3 separate regions of the Homo sapiens genome follow, and all the other regions are linked to region 3. Evidence: promoter capture Hi-C in human tissues and cell types (Jung and others, 2019). All regions are on one chromosome and are shown on one strand. Each heading gives the region's core, a stretch centred on a gene start or on the middle of the fragment in contact. The rest is flanking DNA. Distances are from core to core; before and after follow the strand shown. Region 1 holds the start of SLPI (secretory leukocyte peptidase inhibitor). Region 2 holds the start of LINC02597 (long intergenic non-protein coding RNA 2597). Region 3 holds the start of SPINT3 (serine peptidase inhibitor, Kunitz type 3).

Region 1 (3,983 bases), core at 790-3,289, 260 kb after region 3:
ATTTTTGTATTTTTAGTGGAGATAGGGTTTCACCATGTTGGCCAGGCTGCTCTTGAACTCCTGACCTCAAGTGATCCGCCCACCTTGGTTTCCCAAAGTGCTAGGATTACAGGCATAAGCCACCGTGCCCAGCCCCTTTTCATTCTTTAAGAAATAAATATTTAGAAAACTCCAGATAATTTCTTGAGTGTGGCACTGAGGAAAATAGGAACAAACAGAGAGAGAGAGAGAGAGAGAGAACAGGAACTCTGTGAGAGAAATCAAATTATCCCCTGGGTGGTGGAAGTGAGAACAAAAATCTTGACCTGAGAGTGTCATTACCCATTGGTGGAAATCATAGCCTCCATTTCTCTCTTACCTACCCTACTAAGTACTCCAACTAAGAGTGAATGCACCTGGCTCATAGTAGTTACCTTGTGCATATTAATTTTCTTCCTTTTCTTTTTCCACCAAAATTTGACTGATGATTGATTATGTCCAAGTCTTCTGATCCACCAAAATTCAAACCATGGAGTGACTTTTGTATAAAGGGATCTGCTGCCAGTTGCCTGTTTGGTTGTGGAATACTTAAATACTTCATGTGGGGCCATCGCTACTTGATAATGAGTGGGTCTTTCATGTCTGTGGAAAGTTCCACAAACCTTCACCTTAGGAATGAATGGGAGAATTCCAAGCATGAAGATAATGAGTCAAGAGCTTGGAGTTTGTAGCTAGATGAGCTTTGGTTGAATTTTATTTTATTTTATTTTTTTAAGACAGGGTATCGCTCTGTCCCCCAAGCTGGAATGCAGTGGCACAATCATGGCTCACTGCAGCCTCAAACTCCTGGGCTAAAGCGATCCTCCTGGCTCAGCCTCCCAAGTAGCTGGGACTACAGGCATACGTACGTCATCATGCCTGGCTAATTTTTTACATTTTTTTGTAGAGATGGGGTCTCAATATGTGGCCAGGGCTGGTCTCAAACTCCTACTCTCAAGGAATCCATACACCTCAGCCTCCTGGGCAGCTGAGACAGCAAGTGTGCGACCCTACACTCAGCTATGGGCTGAATTTTAGAGATAATGGTCGCTCTCTTTATAATTAGAAGCAACCTATGCAGACTGGGTAGCAAATAGAATGGGTTTAATTTTTTGCTGTCATGTGAGATCTGTAAGGGATTTTGGGGAATTTTAGGAAGCAATCCTCTAAGATCTCAAATTATCTCACAGCTAAATGTAGATTACAGTGACTGATGAGCTGCTTTCCCCCTTTATCTCAGATTCATTTCAATTCTCTTTAGTGGGAAGGGATACTATTCATTTGTTCTTTTCATTCAGAGTCCCTTCATGCCCTTAATTTCATAACCCTCTGAGAAGGGCTGACTTGTTAGTATCATTTCATTTCACAGCTGAGACAACTGAGCTCCAGAGAGATTTGTGGAGAGCGGAGCTCTTCTTCAGCTTTCATTTGTGAGTGCTTTTCCTGTGTCAGGCACAGAACAGGCACTGGGGATATAACGGTGTAAATATTTCAGGGAACTAAGTATCAGTTGGTTGAACGAGCTGAACTTTTGAGAAAGAAACTGCATTGAGTAATCAGCAGAGTTTCACAATGCCTGAGAGTCCAGTAATGTGAGAATCAGAATTAGCAATGTGAGAATAGAATGTATTGCACAAAGTCTCAGCAGGGAGTCTGTGTCTGGTTTTAGTTCCAGGTCCGGGTAGCACCTTTGCAATTGACCACTTCTTCCCTCTCTCCACCTATAAGGCTAATGGCCTGGGATCTTGTGATGTTTAGGGCTCAGATGGACACTGAGATGGCCTCTTTAATCAACCAACTTCCCAGGCCAATCTCTTCCCTTTCTTTTCTGATAGTTGCTGTGTTGGCCTCATAGCCTTACCTGGCATAGGAAAGATAAACAATCTCCTTGGTGTCAGGATTTCTGGTCTCTGGCTACGTTTCCTGCTTATGCAATAGTAGCTGGGAGAGGCCGAAAGAATTCTGGTGGGGCCACACCCACTGGTGAAAGAATAAATAGTGAGGTTTGGCATTGGCCATCAGAGTCACTCCTGCCTTCACCATGAAGTCCAGCGGCCTCTTCCCCTTCCTGGTGCTGCTTGCCCTGGGAACTCTGGCACCTTGGGCTGTGGAAGGCTCTGGAAAGTGTAAGTTGGAGTCACTCTGGTCTAATCTGGGCTGCAGGGTCAGAGGTGGGGTCTCCTTGTGGTGTGGGTGTGTCCCCTTCTGTAGGCTCTGATCCCTCAGCTTAGTTTCGGGAGACCTCCCTGAGGGTGGAATACATGTCTGGCTGAGCTCCAAGGTTTGTGTGACAGTTTGAGCTTCTGGAAATGCTTCCTCTATGCAGCCATGCTGTCAGCCCAGGTCCCACTCTCTCTCTCTCTCTCTCTCTCTCTCTCTCTCTCTCATACTCCGCCTTCTTCTTCACCTGTCTGCGACTCTCAAATCATTAGTTTCTGACTCTGCTTCCTTGTGTCTTTGCTTCTGCTATTTTGTCTCTGTGCTTCTGCCTTGGGCTTTAGCTCTCAACTTCTCTCACACTGGTTCTATTTATCTTTGTTTACCTCTCTCCATCTCCATCACTCCCAGCCTTCCTCTCTGCCTTTGTGTAGCCTTGTTTTGCTCTTGGGTGGGAGGTCTTGACTAGAAGCCTGCTGCCCTTTTCTTGGGTGTGAAACGTCCCCTGTCCATTTGTCTAATTTAATCAAGCCCATCAATACACCTGGAGATCAGGCAGGCATGACCCTTTGGGCTTTGTGGACAGCTACTGAGGTAAGGGTCTCTCCCCCTCAAAAGTGGTGCTTTGTTCAGGAGGCATGATGGGTCCTCAGTACCCAGCCTCCTCCTGACCTCTTGACTTTCTCTTCAAAAGCCTTCAAAGCTGGAGTCTGTCCTCCTAAGAAATCTGCCCAGTGCCTTAGATACAAGAAACCTGAGTGCCAGAGTGACTGGCAGTGTCCAGGGAAGAAGAGATGTTGTCCTGACACTTGTGGCATCAAATGCCTGGATCCTGTTGACACCCCAAACCCAAGTAAGCAGGTCGGGGAACTGGGTAGAGAGGAGTGAGCCTGGGGACACAGCATTAGAGGGATGGAACTGGGTGATGGGTCCTGCCAGGCCTCCTTGTCAATCCGTCAGTGAGTCACACTGCCCTAAGCAGGAAGGTAGCCAGCAGCTGGTGAAGCAGCGGGCATTTAGATAGCCAGGTAGTTGGAAGCCTCCCACCTAGTCAGCACTGGGTGGCTGGCCACCTGCATCAATGGGGGGCCTGAAGTTCTAGGAGAGCCAGGTGCTATGTTTGGGGGCCGCCTTAGGGAGAAGGTGGTGGTGATAGAGGTGGGGAGGGGATGATCCCCCCTGCTGAAGCTGGAGCAGGGGCTCACTCTAAAAAGTGGGGATGGGAGGGGTTGTATAAAGTACAAGGCCTCTGACCGGTAGCCTCACTCTCACCCAGCAAGGAGGAAGCCTGGGAAGTGCCCAGTGACTTATGGCCAATGTTTGATGCTTAACCCCCCCAATTTCTGTGAGATGGATGGCCAGTGCAAGCGTGACTTGAAGTGTTGCATGGGCATGTGTGGGAAATCCTGCGTTTCCCCTGTGAAAGGTAAGCAGGGGATGAGGGCACACTGAGCTCCCTCCAGCCCTCTCAGCCTCAACCCTCTGGAGGCCCAGGCATATGGGCAGGGGGACTCCTGAACCCTACTCCAAGCACAGCCTCTGTCTGACTCCCTTGTCCTTCAAGAGAACTGTTCTCCAGGTCTCAGGGCCAGGATTTCCATAGGATCGCCTGTGGCTTTGATTCTATTCTAGTGTCTCTGGGTGGGGGTCCTGGGCAAGTGTCTTTCTGAGTCTCAGTTTCTTTATCGGTAAAATGTACATAATGAGATTGAAAGTGCTCTGCAAAGCACTATGTGCACTAAGAATTTATTATTCAGGTTGTTTCCATCATGTTTTCTGAGGTGAAATCACAAAGGATCAGTGGAGTT
Region 2 (4,251 bases), core at 497-2,996, 330 kb after region 3:
GTGTTTGTGTTTTAAGCTAAATTTTACTACTAAAGAGTGAAAAAATTAAAAATAAAAAAGTGTATAAAGATTTTATACTAAGTTAAGGTTAATTTATTATTGCAGAAAGAAAACTTTTAAATAAATTTTGTGTAGTCTAAGTGTATAATGTTTACGTCTACAGTAATGGACAGCAATGTCCTAGTTCTTGACATTCACTTACCATTCACTTAATGATTCACAAGACCAATCAACTTGCAGACCTTCAAGCTGCATTCATGGTAAGTCCTCTATACAGGTATGCTATTTTTAAATATTTTATACCATATTTTTACTGTACCTTTTCTACATTTAGATATGTTTAGATACACAAGTACTTACCATTGAGTTGCAATTGACTACACTGTTCAGTACAATAACATAGTGTACAGGTTTGTAGCCTAGGAACAATAGGCTATACCATATTGCCTAGCTGTGTAGTAAGCTATACATCTAGGTTCCTGTAAGTCCACCTTATGATGCTCTTGCAAGGTGCAAGATACAAGAACATCATAGAGTGGACCGCCAAGACTCCAGTTGTCCTAAAAGTCTGGTGAGGTTTTTGGTTTTTTCTTTGTTTTTTTTTTTTTTGTAAAATGCTGATTTGAGGATTTCCTGAGAATGATAAAAATTTGACTTTATAAAAATTGATAATCTTTGGAAGGGAAAATATGATATAAGCAAAGGAAAAGAATAAAATCATGCATTGCATAACTAAGCCACAAAATCACCTAACAACCCATTTCTGAGACCATATCACTTGTCACTAAGTGACCCATGACTGTAGTTAACAACTCACCAGAAAAATATTTGTTAATGTATAAAAGCAAATAGTGAATCATATTTAAATAATAAGCACTCCTACAAATAGATTGAAATAATCTGGACAATCCAATAAGAAAGGAAGCAAACGGTATTAAAAAGCAGTCACTGGGGAAAGGTTAACATCTGAATCAATATGAAACCTCTACCATCTCACTGAAAACTAAATACAAGTTCAGAATTCATCATGTTTCCTTTGCATTTTTTTTTTCTTTTTGAGATGGAGTCTCGCTCTGTCACCAGGCTGGAATACGGTGGCGCGACCTCAGCTCACTGCAACCTCCGCCTCCCTGGTTCAAGCAATTCTCCTGCCTCAACCTCCTGAGTAGTTGGGATTACAGGCGCCTGCAACCATGCCTGGCTAATTTTTGTATTTTTAGTAGAGACGGGGTTTCACCATGTTGGCCAGGATGGTCTCAAACTCCCGACCTCAAGTAATCCGTCCACCTTGGCCTCCCAAAGTGCTGGGATTACAGGCATGAGCCACCACACCTGGCCTTCCATGGCTTTTTTTTTTTTTTTGGTATCACAGTGGATTTGCTAAAAACTAGGCAAATTCTTTCCTATCTCTGGAATTCAGTTCTAACAAACGTAAAAATGAATGAGGTAGAAAGATTGTCTCTAAAACTCCTACAGCCCTTTCCACAATGAAAGAGGCTAAAAGATACTATAAAGCTATTTTATTGAAACGTGTGAGATAAGAATAAAAAATACAGAAAGTTAAGATAATTAAAATGAGAGAATAAGGGGGTGCTGAAAATTCCACTGAGAATAGCTGACTTGTCACAGAGTTGTAGAAAATTATCTCAGCCAGATTGCTTCCATCTGCAGTGTCTTCTCTTTGTTTTTGCTTTCACACATTACCTTATGCTGTTCCATCACTCTAGGCTGTCAGGCTCAATCCAATGGACCACCTTTCATGGCCCAGATCAAGTGGATCCATCAAAGTGACCTTATTAGGAAGTTAGCGCTACATCTTAGTTCTAGGCCCAGCAAGGCTACGGAGCACTCTGTGACTGAAAGACCTTCATTCTCCTCTCTGGGACTCAGTTTTCTCCTCCTTAATGTGAGAAGGTGGTTCGTGATAATGTCAAGGGGTACTTCCTGTTCTAAATTGGATGGAAGGCTGTGTAATCAGGGGACATGCTAAGAGCTGATAAACACTAGGTGCCTGTTTTTACCTCCTAGGGCTGACACCTGCTTACCCTTGAGATGGCTGACCCACATGACTGGTTGGAGGAGAGTCTCTCTGTCTCAGTTCTAGACAGGGCATGAGAAGTGGCTTGATTTTTCCTGAGGCTGACCAGTGGCTGCTCTATCGTTCCGTCTTGGGAATCACCATAAAGCCTCAGGGACAAGCAGAGGGCTGCTGGCCTCAGACAAGAAGCCAGAACCCTGCTGGGTTTTGGATTATTGGATCCAGATGGTGGAAACAAAGGGAGGAGAGCAGAGAATATATGTCTTCTCTTGTAATTGAAAACTTGATGTCTGCTAAGCTCATTAAGCCACTGTGACTCACTCAAATGGCATTTTAGAGGACTTAAATGTGCCAGGTGGACCCCAAATCCAGTCATTTTTCCCCTTCTTCTGACTTCCTCCCAAAAGTTGCCCACATAGTCAAATTTCTCCTTAGAAAGCTCTCAGTCAGGGGTGTCCAATCTTTTTTTTTTTTTTTTTCTTTGAGCTGGAGTCTTGCTCTGTCGCCCAGGCAGGAGTGCAGTGGTGCAATCTTGGCTCACTGCAAACTCCGCCTCCTGGGTTCACGCCATTCTCCTGCCTCAGCCTCCCAAGCAGCTGGGACTACAGGTGCCCGCCACCACGCCCGGCTAATTTTTTGTATTTTTAGTAGAGACGGGGTTTCACTGTGTTAGCCAGGATGGTCTCGATCTCCTGACCTCATGATCGGCCCGCCTCGGCCTCCCAAAGTGCTGGGATTACAGGCGTGAGCCACTGCGCCTGGCCTGGGGTGTCCAATCTTTTGGCCTCCCTGGCCCACATTGGAAGAATTATCTTTGGCCACACATAAAATACACTAACACTAACGATAGCTGATGAGCTAAAAAAAATCACAAAGAAACTCATTTATGAATTTGTGTTGGGCCATAATCAAAGCCATCCTGGGCCACATGCAGCCTGCAGGCCACAAGTTGGACAAGCTTGCTCTAGGTAGTTTGGAGGCTCTATTAGAGGGGCTCAAAAACTCCACGTGCTTAGGCCTTCTCTTTTCCAGATGGTGTTACTGAGGTTAGTGAGAACAGGGAACTTATCCAGGTCTGTTAGGAGTAAGACTTAGGTCTGGGAGGTGACATAGTACTACCTGTTCCTGAATTCCAGAAGGGAATCGGAGGACAGAGGGTACCTGGAAGGGACTTGAAGCTGGATAAGTTAACGTGGGTAGAAAGACTCCCTTCTCTGCACAGTTACACAGCCTCCTAGGTGGGCAGGACCAAGCTTAGATGTCGCAAAAAAAAAAAAAAAGATACTTGGTCCAAAGTCACATCTCCCAAATTGGGCCCTCATCATGCTGTGAATTCCTTATTTCTATTAATTAATAATTTCCTTTGAAATTCTAAACAATTGGAAAACAATGAAAGACTCCAAGTATTAGGAGACAAATACTGAGGCATCAATTGGAATTATAGAAATTACATTTGAAACAATTTGATCAAGTCAGCTATTTTCAGACAATTGTACAACGAACCCATGTCTGGGAATCAGAGAACCAGTTCTTTTCTGGGTTTGACTTACTGAGTGAAATTAGGAAATGCATTTCTCCCTTCAGGGGTCTGTGCAATCGTGATAAAGTAAGGAGGGAAATGACATCTCCCCACAGTCATTTTGTTGTCCTTTATGCCATTCAAGATTTGTTAATCAGGTGTCAATATCTCTAGGGAGGCCATGCAGGGACAGCAAAGTGAAACATGTTGGGGCCTTGTATCTCTCTTTGAGGCCTTGGGTCTCCAAGCCCTTGTCTGGTTCCAGCACTCCTTGGACAAGGCTGTCTTCCCTAGTAACAGCACCTCTCATTGCTTGGGAAGTTAGGAGAACTGGTACCCCATATCTGCTTTTGAAATCTGGTTTGAGTCTAGAGGACACATCCAATGCATGGATCACACCCGGAATTATTGCAGAGGGAAGCAATGAAATGGAAGCAAGAAAAATAGCTTCTTTCAAACTCACCCAAAACATTACTCACGCTTTCTTTTTTCTTGATCTTCTTCAAGTGCATTAATAATTTTTCTCCAACTTCTTTCAGAGAGTAGTTTCCAGGAGATTTTTTTGGGGTAGTTGAAGACAATAGAAGGCAGAAGAGGAAGAATAAGTAACTTCCACAATCTCCACCCCAAGAGGTATAAAATAACACCACCACCAAGAAATTTCTAAACAAAACCACATCCTCAACATAACTTG
Region 3 (4,449 bases), core at 552-3,051:
ATGAGAAAACTGAGGCTGGAAGACGTTAAATGACTTGCCCAGGTCAAGAGTAGCTGGACTTAAATCAACCCAAGTGTCCGTCACTGGATGGATAAAGAAAATGTGGTATGTATACACAATGGAATACTACTCAGCCTTTAAAAAGAAGGAAATCCTACCATTTGTGACAACGTGGATGAACCTGCAGGTTACGTGAAATAAGCCAGGGACAGAAAGACAAATACCAGGTGATCTCACTTACATGTGGAATCTAAAAAAGTTGAAGTCACAGAAGCAGAGAGTAGAATGGTGGATACCCGGGGCTGGGGGTGGGAAGTATTGGGAAGGTGCTGGTCAAAGGGTACAAAATTTCAGTTAGACAGACGGAATAAGTTGTAAAGACCTATTGCACAGCATGGTGACCGTAGTTAATAACATATTGTACACTTGAAAATTGCTAAGAGAGAAAATTTCTCTCTCTCTCTATATATATATACACACATATATTTCAAAACATCATATTGTACCTCATAAATATATAATGTTTCTCAACTTATGATGAGATTATAGCCTAATAAACCTAGCCTAAGTTGAAGATATCAGAAGTTGAAATGCATTTAATACACCTAACCTACCAAACATCATAGCTTAGCCTTACCTACCTTAAACTTGCTCAGAACACTTATACTAGTCTACAGTTGGGCAAAATCATCTAACACAAAGCCCCTTTTATAATGAAGTGTTGAATATCTAATGTAATTTATTGAATACTGTTCTAAAAGTGAACACAGAATGGTTGTATGGGTATTCCAAGTACTGTTTTTACTGACTGTGCATTGTGTTTGCACCATCATAAAGTCAAACACTGTAAGTCAAACCATTGTAAATTGGGGACTGCCTTTATACAATTTTTATTTCTCAATTAAAAATAAATAATAATAAATATATGATAGAATGCTTCTTGAAAAAGAATAGCTGGACCCATCACAACCTCAAATTTTAAATCTGAGGCTCACTAAATCTCCCTAAAGCATGCTGGCTTTGTCTTTCAAAAAAAATGGATCTCTAGAGAGTCAAGGAAAGGAGACAGTTGGAATGTGCTGGATTCTGGGGGTGTGTCTCTAGAGACCATGACCCTCTGAAGCAAACAAAGCTGGGCCCTCCTTCTACATGGTGCTTTTGATATTTCTATTAAAATATAATGAATCTGCTCCTCCTCCAAGTAGGTGACTGTTTCTGACTTCCAATGTGTTTGTGTGTGTTGTTGCCATAATTTCCTGGGAGCACCCAGATGGGATGGAGGCAGCATCTAATACTTTGCCTGGTGCAGTGTGGGTACTTGATGAATGTTTGTTGAATGAATGAGTGATACGAGGGCACTGAAGCAGACAGACCGGGGTCTCAGTCTTGTCTCTGAAACTTGCTGTCCATGTAACAATGGTCAAAGTAGCATAACCTCCTCTCATCTACAAAATGGGAGTGTTAGTGTTGTGGGATTCCCGTGTAGACTTAAGGGAAGCAATGTGTGAAAACTATTTTGCATGGTGCCTGGAAAAGGAAAGGTACTCAAAAATGGCTGCTGTCTTTTTATTATTGTGAAAAAGGCTTCCACCCTGAAGTGGTACTAAAGTAGCCTGGGTGGCCAGATCAGATAAGGCCAGGAGGAGAGAGGTGAAGCTGTGCTTTGGCTGAACACTCTGTTCCTGAGGCAGCCCAGCCCCATGAAAAGCCTGAGTTAAAGGTGAATGAGCTGGATGTGGGGCCAGGCTCCTCCCCTTGGTCCCTTTTCTCCCTAAAATGGCAACCCCAGGCTGAGCCACTGGCTGAGTGGCACCATGCAGCTTCAGGCCTCTCTCTCGTTTCTCCTGATTCTCACTCTCTGCCTAGAGCTTCGATCAGAACTAGCACGAGGTTGGTATGAAATGTGGGATCTCAAAGAATAGACTGGGAATCAGGCTGGGGGGCGGGGTGGTGGGGGAGGTGATGCAGCACAAACAGAGCCCATTTCTTACCTTACCGGATTGAGAGTCAATTCAGTTCAATTCACTTCATCAGACATATGTTGGGCACATAGTTATGTGCCAGGCACTGTCCTAGGTGCTGAGGTTAAAGCAAAGAGCCTGAGACCCTGCCTTTGTGAAATTAAGATGCTAATGGGAGAGAGACATACAATACCTAATACAAATGATAGATGATCAAAGTGCTATAGAAAATGAAATAAGTAAAGCAGGAAAAGGGGCCTTCAATGTCTGGGGTGGGGCTGGTGGCAGGCAAGGAGAGGTTGGGAAAAGGAGATCAGAGCCAGAATTTGAGAGTGAGGGACTTAGCCAAGTTAGATGCACTTGTCAGAAAAGGCTCCTTCCTGGACCACTTTCTCTGTGGAAGCTTGGAATCTGCAAATGGAAGTGGGGAGATGAAGTGCAGTTATAGCTAAGATAATCTGCTGGAAATGGGGATGGTAGGCAGCAGTTTCCAAGATTTTTAAGCAGCCAGTAGGATGCCCTGTATAAAAATGCATATTAGAATACACAAAAGGGTAAGAAAGAAGGTGAAAAATTATCAAAATCTTACCCTCTGGAGATTATCACTGTCAATGTGCCAGTGAACATTCTTGCATGTGCAAGCATAGTTCTCTGCATGTATGTACATGGAGCTATTAATGATAGATTCTTAGACATAAATGGAACTCTAAACCTCCCAATAACCTTATAGATGAGTGGTTCTCGAGTTTGTCCCCTAGTCTGACAGCAATAGCAGCAGCAGTATCAACTGGAAACATGCTAGTTCCCAGTCCCACCTGATCAGAAACTGTGGAGGTGGGTCTCTCTAACAAGCCTTCTAGATGATTCTGACGCATACTCAAGTTTGAAAATGTCTGCCATAAGTAAGAAGAATGTAGTGGTTTACAGTATGAGCATTCCTGGAGTCAGACACACCTGGGTTCTGGTCCAGGCTCCTCTACTTACAAACTCTGTGCCTCAGGAACATCATTTATAGCCTCTCTGAGCATCAGTTTCTTCTTCTATAAAAAAAGATTAACCATCTTTTCTGCTTTATTAATCAAATAGTCTGATGTATGTCAAGCTCTCAGTATAACTTAGCTCTTAATAGATTCTTGTAAAGCACTTAGAACAGCTTCTGTCACACTCAAAACACACACACAGGGTGTCATTATCTACTTTACATAAAAAAGAAGCAAGTCAAGTGATTTTCCTTTGGTTTAATGGAATGGAAGAGCAGAGAAGCAAGACTGAGAAAACTAAGAGCAGATGGGACTCCAGCCCCTACAGAGTCACCTGTAAGGGTCTAAGGGCCGATGATGCAGTGACTAGGATGTCTTAAGAACATGCCCCTCCACCTCCCACCTGGATTGAATAAGCTATTCTGCCTCTTCCCCATTCTCCTGCACCCTTAGCGTCAGCCTTGCAGGTAGGAGGATAAGACAGAGTCTGAACCTTTCCAAGCCCTAGGCTGCTGCCTGAAGTTCCACCATAGGTGTGATCATTCATCTGTGCATTCACTCATTTTACAACAACCAAGATGGATGGAGAACCTGCAAGCCTTTGCAGTCGAACCATGCTGGGTTTGATTCTTGGTCCTACTGCTTCCTAGCCTGACATTAGGACAGGTACTTCATTTATCTGGCCTTAGTTTCTTCACATAATGTTGGAAATTCTACTAGCTACCATGAAGAGTAAAACTGCCCACATGGTGACAGAAACATAAAAGGAGGGTACAAAGAAACTTTTAATCCTGCCCCAGAGGGGCTCAGTGGGGTGGTGGTGGTGGTTTTCTATTAACAAATATTTGCTAAGAACTGAGAACTAGGCCTGTGTTAGGCACTAAGGCTGCAGAAATGAGTACAATGAGGTCCCTCTTCTCAAGAGTCTTATTGGTTAAGAAATAGAATGATTAAGAGCAGCTACTATTTATTGATTTATTTTCTATTTATCAATGCTTTTCACTGGTAATCTCTAACCCTGCAATAAACCAAAAATGTGGATATTACACCTGCATTTTTGCAATGAAGGAAATTGAATGTCAAGGAGATAAGTCATTTGTCCAAGATCACATAGCTAGAAGATAATTGAGACAAGTTTGAACCCTCTCAGATTCAATCTTGCTCTCAGATTCAAAGTCTGTCCTCCTTCTCTCATAGGATATTGATTCTAGAATTGATTATGAGACAGGAGGTAGAAACCTGAGGATCTTTATTATCAAATCCTATAAAAGTAGATCTGGAAGGGAACTCAGAGATGATGTGGTTCAACTCCTTGATTTTACAAATGAAGAAATGGAGACATGAAGAAGTTAGGTTTATACAACATCACACAGTAGCAAGTGGCTGCGCGAGGATCTCAATCCACTTGAGTTATATTCTCAAGCCTATGATTATCACCACATCAGGCTACTCTCAGAAGTGAAAATGTCAACTTCTGTGTAGACAGATCAGACCATAGCTGGGTAGAA

What was found. The method cuts DNA at HindIII sites, captures the fragments that hold promoters and counts their contacts. A contact is called where the count stands out against the background at its distance.
Region 1: the fragment with the promoter of SLPI here is called in contact with the fragment with the promoter of SPINT3 in region 3 in 1 of the 25 tissues and cell types used here (IMR-90 fibroblasts).
Region 2: a fragment that was not itself captured here is called in contact with the fragment with the promoter of SPINT3 in region 3 in 1 of the 25 tissues and cell types used here (pancreas).

The regions. Positions count from the first base shown.
Region 1 is chr20:45,252,620-45,256,602 of GRCh38, reverse strand. SLPI (secretory leukocyte peptidase inhibitor) reads left to right here and starts at 2,039. Exons shown (of 4, transcript NM_003064.4): 1 at 2,039-2,144; 2 at 2,870-3,028; 3 at 3,452-3,601. The coding sequence starts at 2,060. The region is part of intron 2 of LOC105372630 (a long non-coding RNA gene); the gene reads right to left. The HindIII fragment of the contact is 21,755 bases long and covers 1-3,983 here.
Region 2 is chr20:45,179,904-45,184,154 of GRCh38, reverse strand. It overlaps LINC02597 (long intergenic non-protein coding RNA 2597), which reads right to left and starts at 4,168. Exons shown (of 4, transcript NR_187568.1): 1 at 4,021-4,168. The HindIII fragment of the contact is 4,169 bases long and covers 1-3,830 here.
Region 3 is chr20:45,512,974-45,517,422 of GRCh38, reverse strand. SPINT3 (serine peptidase inhibitor, Kunitz type 3) reads left to right here and starts at 1,801. Exons shown (of 2, transcript NM_006652.2): 1 at 1,801-1,890. The coding sequence starts at 1,815. All of the region lies in intron 1 of LOC107987282 (a long non-coding RNA gene), which reads right to left. The HindIII fragment of the contact is 13,872 bases long and covers 1-4,449 here.